Linked DNA regions of Homo sapiens: region 2 is linked to region 1. Evidence: promoter capture Hi-C in 16 types of primary human blood cells and fetal thymus (Javierre and others, 2016). All regions are on one chromosome and are shown on one strand. Each heading gives the region's core, a stretch centred on a gene start or on the middle of the fragment in contact. The rest is flanking DNA. Distances are from core to core; before and after follow the strand shown. Region 1 holds the start of PROC (protein C, inactivator of coagulation factors Va and VIIIa). Region 2 overlaps WDR33 (WD repeat domain 33).

Region 1 (4,577 bases), core at 1,970-4,469:
CCTCCTAGTCGGCCCCTCCCTGACCTTCCCAGGCCTGTGGGAAGTCCTGTTAAGTCCCAGGCCATGTCCACTTTGTATAAAATACTTAAAAATAAGGCCAGGCACAGTGGCTCCCGCCTGTAATCTCAGCACTTTGGCAGGCTGAGGAGGGAGGATCACTTGAGGTCAGGAGTTCTAGAGCAACACAGCAAGACCTCCTCTCTCCTAAAAATTTTTAAAAATCAGCTGGGCGTGGTGGCACGGGCCTGTGATCCCAGCTACTGAGGTGGCTGAAACAGAAGAATCGCTTGAGCCCAGGAGATCTAGGCCGCAGAGAGCTGTGATCCCGCCACTGCACTCCAGCCTGGGTGACAGAGCCAGAGAGACCCTGTTTCAAAACTTTTTTAATTAAAAAATTAATAAAAGATTTAACGTGACCCTTATAACAGTCACCTGAGACGGACGCTGACCCCATTTTACAAATGTGGACATTGAGACACAGGGAAGTTAAATCCCCCTGTCAGAAAAAGGCTAGCGGAGGTTTAAGGCCGTGGGAACGTGACTCCAGAGCTGAGGGCTTTGGAACCCCGCCTGCTCCGGTAGTTGTGGCTGGCCTTGCCCCACACACATTTGGTTCTAGCTCCTTTGCTTGGGTCTTCATCCATGCAGCGAATTCCTTAGCCACAGGTGTCCCTCTGCTCTCTAACTCACAGCGAGCTCGCTGCCCAAAGTCCTGCTCCGGCTTCCTGGGTGGACCTGACCGCGTTCGGGTGCACGTGGGGCGACTCACACCTGACAAGTAAAGCGGGTGAGGCCGCGCCTGTGAAGGGCGCCTGGCTCCTCCGCAGGAGCGGTGCGGCGCGGCGCCCCCGGCTGGAACCAGGTGTAACTGCAGAGACCCTGGGATCGCAGGAACGGCTGGCGGCAGGACTGTCCCTACCTCGAGAAGGTGACGGGGTTTCCTGCGCTGCCAGCCGATGAGGCGGCCGTGACGCAGCCCGCCGTGCAGAGTCCCCGTCGGCCGACAGGCGTGCAGAGCTCTGCAGAGGACCCTTCCGCCCTCTGGGCAGCCTGCCAAGCCGTGGCACCCCCAACCCCCAGCACTGGGCACTTGGGAGCATTGCAGCCGCCCTGGCTCGTACCGGTGCCGGTGCTTTGGGCACCTGGGCTGGTTTGGACATGGGTGCCCCGGGCAGAGTCCATTTATGCAGGTCAGAATCAGTGTGTGGAGCCTGCATAGACTTGCCCTGGAGCGGCTGCCTGTGCTGGGGTGGGGAGGAGTAGAGGGCGAGAAGTTGGTGGGGAAGGGAAGCGGCGCCAAAAGAATACCCACAACATCTTGCACCTGGAAGGCAAAGCAGAGGGCAGTGATCTCTGCAGACTTGCGGGGGCGACGCCTGAAGCAAACAGGGACATACAAGCTGGTGCCTTCTGTGGTTGTGCATGGGGTCTTCATGCTTCCTGTCTGAGTTCCCAGAAGCTTGTCTCTGCTTTTCTAGGCAGCTGCCACAGCCTGTCACAAACAGCTCCTGGTTCTCCACTTCTCATAGTCTCGATTTCAAAATCCATTGCCTCACCCTCCACCTCCTCTCCACCTCCACCCCTCCTAGCACCTCCTGACTGCTTGTGTTCTGTGTCTCCCCACTGTCTCCCAACCTGGGGTGGGGTTGGGGGGGATGTCTTTCCTCCTGTCTGCTCTTTGATGTCCAGCTGAAGTGTCACCTCCTACAGGCAGCCTCCCCTGGCTATGCCAGCTTGTACTGATTGCCCTCTCCTCTGAATTCTGTAAGCATTTCCTATGTGTACCTGCCCCTGGGCAAGGTGGGCCTGACTTGTTAGAGTGTTAGAGTTTTACCCTGTTCCTCTAGGAGGGCCTGGTACCACCACAGCCCAGCATGGTGTGGTGCCTCAGCAGGAGGCATCTGGTTACAATCAACACAAGCTGTTCCAGCCAATTTAAAGAAACTTCAGGAGGAATAGGGTTTTAGGAGGGCATGGGGACCCTCCTGCACCCGAAGCCAGGATGTGCCACCAATCATAAGGAGGCAGGGGCCTCCTTCCGCTGCTCCCTGGGACTCTCTAGGTGTCCGTGGCCTCAGTCCCCCTCTGCACACCTGCATCTTCCTTCTCATCAGCTTCCTCTGCTTTAAGCGTAAACATGGATGCCCAGGACCTGGCCTCAATCTTCCGAGTCTGGTACTTATGGTGTACTGACAGTGTGAGACCCTACTCCTCTGATCAATCCCCTGGGTTGGTGACTTCCCTGTGCAATCAATGGAAGCCAGCGAGGCAGGGTCACATGCCCCGTTTAGAGGTGCAGACTTGGAGAAGGAACGTGGGCAAGTCTTCCCAGGAACAGGTAGGGCAGGGAGGAAAGGGGGGCATCTCTGGTGCAGCCCGGTTCGGAGCAGGAAGACGCTTAATAAATGCTGATAGACTGCAGGACACAGGCAAAGGTGCTGAGCTGGACCCTTTATTTCTGCCCTTCTCCCTTCTGGCACCCCGGCCAGGAAATTGCTGCAGCCTTTCTGGAATCCCGTTCATTTTTCTTACTGGTCCACAAAAGGGGCCAAATGGAAGCAGCAAGACCTGAGTTCAAATTAAATCTGCCAACTACCAGCTCAGTGAATCTGGGCGAGTAACACAAAACTTGAGTGTCCTTACCTGAAAAATAGAGGTTAGAGGGATGCTATGTGCCATTGTGTGTGTGTGTTGGGGGTGGGGATTGGGGGTGATTTGTGAGCAATTGGAGGTGAGGGTGGAGCCCAGTGCCCAGCACCTATGCACTGGGGACCCAAAAAGGAGCATCTTCTCATGATTTTATGTATCAGAAATTGGGATGGCATGTCATTGGGACAGCGTCTTTTTTCTTGTATGGTGGCACATAAATACATGTGTCTTATAATTAATGGTATTTTAGATTTGACGAAATATGGAATATTACCTGTTGTGCTGATCTTGGGCAAACTATAATATCTCTGGGCAAAAATGTCCCCATCTGAAAAACAGGGACAACGTTCCTCCCTCAGCCAGCCACTATGGGGCTAAAATGAGACCACATCTGTCAAGGGTTTTGCCCTCACCTCCCTCCCTGCTGGACGGCATCCTTGGTGGGCAGAGGTGGGCTTCGGGCAGAACAAGCCGTGCTGAGCTAGGACCAGGAGTGCTAGTGCCACTGTTTGTCTATGGAGAGGGAGGCCTCAGTGCTGAGGGCCAAGCAAATATTTGTGGTTATGGATTAACTCGAACTCCAGGCTGTCATGGCGGCAGGACGGCGAACTTGCAGTATCTCCACGACCCGCCCCTGTGAGTCCCCCTCCAGGCAGGTCTATGAGGGGTGTGGAGGGAGGGCTGCCCCCGGGAGAAGAGAGCTAGGTGGTGATGAGGGCTGAATCCTCCAGCCAGGGTGCTCAACAAGCCTGAGCTTGGGGTGAAAGGACACAAGGCCCTCCACAGGCCAGGCCTGGCAGCCACAGTCTCAGGTCCCTTTGCCATGCGCCTCCCTCTTTCCAGGCCAAGGGTCCCCAGGGCCCAGGGCCATTCCAACAGACAGTTTGGAGCCCAGGACCCTCCATTCTCCCCACCCCACTTCCACCTTTGGGGGTGTCGGATTTGAACAAATCTCAGAAGTGGCCTCAGAGGGAGTCGGCAAGAATGGAGAGCAGGGTCCGGTAGGGTGTGCAGAGGGCCACGTGGCCTATCCACTGGGGAGGGTTCCTTGATCTCTGGCCACCAGGGCTATCTCTGTGGCCTTTTGGAGCACCTGGTGGTTTGGGGCAGGGGTTGAATTTCCAGGCCTAAAACCACACAGGCCTGGCCTTGAGTCCTGGCTCTGCGAGTAATGCATGGATGTAAACATGGAGACCCAGGACCTTGCCTCAGTCTTCCGAGTCTGGTGCCTGCAGTGTACTGATGGTGTGAGACCCTACTCCTGGAGGATGGGGGACAGAATCTGATCGATCCCCTGGGTTGGTGACTTCCCTGTGCAATCAACGGAGACCAGCAAGGGTTGGATTTTTAATAAACCACTTAACTCCTCCGAGTCTCAGTTTCCCCCTCTATGAAATGGGGTTGACAGCATTAATAACTACCTCTTGGGTGGTTGTGAGCCTTAACTGAAGTCATAATATCTCATGTTTACTGAGCATGAGCTATGTGCAAAGCCTGTTTTGAGAGCTTTATGTGGACTAACTCCTTTAATTCTCACAACACCCTTTAAGGCACAGATACACCACGTTATTCCATCCATTTTACAAATGAGGAAACTGAGGCATGGAGCAGTTAAGCATCTTGCCCAACATTGCCCTCCAGTAAGTGCTGGAGCTGGAATTTGCACCGTGCAGTCTGGCTTCATGGCCTGCCCTGTGAATCCTGTAAAAATTGTTTGAAAGACACCATGAGTGTCCAATCAACGTTAGCTAATATTCTCAGCCCAGTCATCAGACCGGCAGAGGCAGCCACCCCACTGTCCCCAGGGAGGACACAAACATCCTGGCACCCTCTCCACTGCATTCTGGAGCTGCTTTCTAGGCAGGCAGTGTGAGCTCAGCCCCACGTAGAGCGGGCAGCCGAGGCCTTCTGAGGCTATGTCTCTAGCG
Region 2 (4,577 bases), core at 696-3,195, 290 kb after region 1:
AACAAAATCATAAATATGGTGCCTTATAACATGAAAGGAAAATTAGTTGTGTATTTCACGACGAAAGCGACGGACCAAAAGAAATTTCCTGCCCCAAGAAGCATGGGATCCAGGAAGGGGCGCGTAGATGCTTAACGGTCTCTTCGGAAATCCTGCAAATAGAAAGATAATTCTAGATCCGGAATACCTGTATCTGGTGGAAACCATGGATTTCTACAAGCTCGAATTATTCCTCATTGTATAGCCTGCTTTGTAAACTAGTTTACAATTTGCAGGCTGATCTTAAGATTTTTTTATATCTAATTGCTGCTGCCTTCATTTTAGGTTCAGCAGTTACTTTTAACTACCTTAATTTATTGCCAGAAGGTATGAGCCTAACATTCTGATGAGTCCAGAAAACTACGTTTTGTCAGTAGCAATACACTAGGAAGTAAAATATATTTAGAATTTAAACATTGTGTGCCAGTGGTCCTCGCGCTTGACTGCACATCAGTTACTTGAAGAGCCACACCTCAGATCAATGCAGTCAGAACCTGGGAAGTAGGTCCCAGACATCAGGACCTTTTTAAAGCTCCCCAAGTGATTCTACGTTCCCCAAGTTTGAGGACCACTTTTCTGTGCATTGGCTTGCACAATTTGAAAGTAATGCTTTTCCTGAGCTGGATCCCAGTGTTGCCTTAACAGGGTGTCTGTCGTGCCGCAGTAGAGCACTGCTGCTTCCTCCAACCCCAAAATTTATGTTCCTAAGTAAGTCAGGTCCCTAAGCCCCGTCCCAAGAAGTGACACAAGTGGCCAACATCCACACTGTAGGCTTGCAGGCTACCCGCCCTGAGATTTGGTAAAGAACACTGCCTTGTTCCCCATCAGTAAACAAGGTTACCTACCTCAGGAGGCTGCTTGTGAGAGAGCAAATGCAGTATCTTCAGAATGATTTATTTTTTTAATTAATTGTAAAGACTTGTGCCATTGGCTGCTCTTTCTAGTCCCCTAAATTTCTGTTCTAGTTTTAAATTTCTCTAGAACTTGCAATAGTTGGGGGTTTTATAATGATGTTTTACAATGTTTATTTCTTAAATAAAAACTTAAAAATTCAACATTTCTCAGCTGGTGGCTCACACCTGTAATCCCAGCATTTTGGGAGGCCAAGGCGGGAGGATCACTTGAGGCCAGGAGTTCAAGACCAGCCTGGGCAACACAGTTAAACCCCATCGCCACAGAAAATCTTCAAAAAATTTGCCAGATATGGTGGCACACAACTGTGATCCCAGCTACTTGGGGTGGGGCTGAGGTGGGAAGATCACTTGAGCCCAGGAGGTTGAGGCTGCAGTGAACTGTGATCACACCACTGCACCACAGCCTAGGCAACAGCGAGACCTTGTCTCAAAAATTTTTTCTCAAATCAAACATCATTGAAAATCTACTTTTTATAAGCTTCAAATCACAACATCTAGTATGTATGCTGACAGTGATGTTTTTAAATGCCATATATATTTAATAAGTATAATGTAGAGGTTTATTGTTTAAATGAATTCACTCTCAAAATGTGATCTGTCAAGTCCAGTAGAGCTTCAAGGTAAAATGAAAATTTTTAAATGTGATCTGGTTATCTGCTTACTGAGATACTATGTTTCTAAAGTTAAAGCCCAAAATAATGAAAATTTTTCCACTAGAATCTCAGGGAAAAAAAGTCTAATCTTGATATGGGTTTGGTCTCTGGATCCGGTTTTAGCTTCATGAAATTTGATTACAGTTTCTCTCTCTTTAAGCTATACCAGTTGGGGGTGAGTGAAGAAATACCCATAACCTAAAGCAATCTTGAGCCTCCTAATAGCATGTTTATGGTGGAGCGCTGATTAAATAAGCTGTAATTTCAAAGTTAAAAAAAAAATAGTCTCTAGATTCTAACACTGAAAAGCAGTGTATATGGCTGACATTTTCTCACTCCACAGAAATCAATTAGCTTTTGCTGTTTTTTACATTCATAGAGAACCAGTTAAATTTTCATATCCTGTTAAACTATATCAGTATGCCTTTTCTAAGCAACCATTGAAACTTCCAGCACCAGCGGCCAGGTACTGTGGCTCAGATCTGCAATCCCAGCACTTTGGGAGGCCACAGCAGGTGGACCGCTTGAGCCCAGGAGTTTGAAACCAGCATAGACAAAGTGGTGAAACTCCATCTCTACAAAAAACACACACACAAAAAATTAGCTGGGCATGGTGGCATATGCCTGTAGTCCTAGCTACTAGGGAGGCTGAGGCAGGGTCAAAGCTGAAGTGAGCCGTGATTGCACCACTGCACTCCTGGCTGGGTGACAGAGCAAGACTCTGTCAAAAAAGGAAAAGAAAAAAAGAAACTTCCAGCACCACTAAATTTGCCAAATAAATTTGACTGATGCCAAAACTGAAGCTGCCAATGTAATGAAATGTTAAGGTGGCCATAGGACAGTCCTTTTAATAAAAGCTTCCATGTAAAACCAAAATAAAGGTCAGTATAGAAAGTATCATGGGGTATATAACAAACTGAATTTTTGGCTTCCAATCCAAACTGGGCTAAATGGTATGTTTATTTTAAACAAGGAATTTGCCATGGACAAGATCTATCTGGCTTACTGTGAGTTAGAAGTACGCCCTGCCGTAACACTGGTATTTCCACATAGTATGGAAGAGGAAGAGAGGAAAACTTAATTAAGTGTTGCAAAATTGTTTGAGGACCTATTTTGGTCCATTCCTTATCAACTCCATGTGTGATTTCAAGTTATCTAAAGGGCATGTGACTTTATTTCTGACTAACATCAAGTTCCTCTCCTCATCATAACAAGGCGATTCAAACCTAAACTGTGATTCTTAGGAGATGCTTCCAAGGGGAAGCTCCCTCGTTGGACATCCAGAAGATTGCATTTTCTCTTCAGAGTACAATTTTCCATCTGTCAGAGCATGTCTGAATAAAAATTTGAACCTACTACAAACTACATTAGAATAATTTTCAAGTATTTTTCTGTCACAAAAATGGTGTGACAGAATGTGTTGAAAAACACAAAGTTCACAGCTGAGATTAATTTAGATAACCTAGTGGTTAATATGCTCATGAACATCAGCAACAACCGTGCATTCCTTGGCAGATGGGATGCGATGGAAACCAAAGGTTTCCTTAAGGCAAGCACTTCACAACTAGTTTTCTGTCAATTCTTGCGTAAATCACATTCTGTATTCATACAAAAACTTTGTTTTTCTCTGACAAACTGTACACATAGAAACAAATTTCCAAATGGACAGGAACTTAAATTTGTGGAGATGCCCCATGTCTTGTGAGACTTAAAAAAAAGAAAAAGATCCCAGCTTTTATCTTCACAAAACAACATGGGAGTTGGGGCAATGAGGGTGGACAGGACAGGGCCAGCCAGGCTGGTAGCTGGCAGCAGTCTCTTCATCTTGAAGACCTCATTGAGGGTTCCTGGGATTCAGGTGCCCAGAAAAGAGTTCAGGGCTACAATGGTGCAGGCTTCCTTTTGTTTCTCTTGGTGAGTCCACAAGAAGTTCTTACATACTGTCCAGAGAGGCCTCAGGGTACTCAGTTCCAGCTTCTACCGACCCCTTCCACCACCCCGTGAAGCTCCTCGCCTCGGCGGGCCAGAGTTCATGTTACTCCCTCTACCCCAGTTACTGCCACTCCGGCCCCCTCGAGAAGGGGTGCCACTGCCTGGAGGGCCCCCAAAAGGTTCATCTCTGTGGTATCCATCGTGGTGCTCTCCGTCTAAGGAGCTGGAACGCCCAGATTTGGGCACTCTCTGAGCAGGTCCTGGGCCCCCTCGGCCTGAAACAAAGAAAATTTCACATGGGACTTTTTGTATTAGCAACTGTTTGTCAGTAACTCCCAGTACAAACTTTACTCTCTGATGACAATGGACCAGTTCTGGTGGGTGCCAGGGAGACTGGCAGTGGTATTCAGCGTACTGAGAGGTGTGCCTCTACCCTTTCCTGACCCTGCCTCCCCCTTCCTGGCTCATGGCCATGGGCCTCAGCATCAGCCAGATCCATGCCCCCAGGGCTGTGTGACAGACGACAGGAAGCCAAGAGATGAGCAAGGAGCACCTTCAGGGAGACCCGGGCCACACTGGGCCATGTCCCAGGCCATGGGAAGTGTATCTGCCTGCTCCCAGCCACCAGGGTATATTGAGGGAAGGTTTGAATATACTGACTTAACTTTGGAAGTACACACTGCTAATGTTAATAAAAAGTGCTCCAACTAGGACAAGCGTTCACTGGGACTGTCCCGTGACATGTGGCACTTTTGGCTTCCTTTTCATAATTAGTAAAATAAAGTATTTCTTGAAAAAACAAAAGAAAAGCACAAAAACCCAAAAACCCCACAAAACACTGGCTTTCAGGTTCTATCACCGAGGCACAGCTTAACCTGCTTCAGACTAGTATGCACAAATGTTTAGGTACTATTAAAATTCTTTCATTCTGTTGCAGCTTGAGAATATATTTAAAAAAAAAAAAAAAAGAAAAAAAAGAAAGGAAAAGGAAAAAAAATTCTATCTTGTAAGATTTTTTTCCTCAGGAAATGATAGGATT

What was found. Contacts are between HindIII fragments. The CHiCAGO score rates a contact against its expected background, and 5 or more counts as called.
Region 2: a fragment that was not itself captured here is called in contact with the fragment with the promoter of PROC in region 1 in 1 of 17 cell types (fetal thymus); the score reaches 5.3 in fetal thymus.

What each region holds. Positions count from the first base shown.
Region 1 is chr2:127,415,208-127,419,784 of GRCh38, forward strand. PROC (protein C, inactivator of coagulation factors Va and VIIIa) reads left to right here and starts at 3,220. Exons shown (of 9, transcript NM_000312.4): 1 at 3,220-3,285. RefSeq lists enhancers at 181-943, 1,324-1,383. The HindIII fragment of the contact is 16,432 bases long and covers 1,458-4,577 here.
Region 2 is chr2:127,702,740-127,707,316 of GRCh38, forward strand. It overlaps WDR33 (WD repeat domain 33), which reads right to left. Exons shown (of 22, transcript NM_018383.5): 22 at 1-3,813. The coding sequence ends at 3,584. It overlaps SFT2D3 (SFT2 domain containing 3), which reads left to right. Exons shown (of 1, transcript NM_032740.4): 1 at 1-2,503. Among named protein-coding and RNA genes, the nearest start is that of SFT2D3, 3.5 kb to the left of the region's middle. The HindIII fragment of the contact is 1,032 bases long and covers 1,430-2,461 here.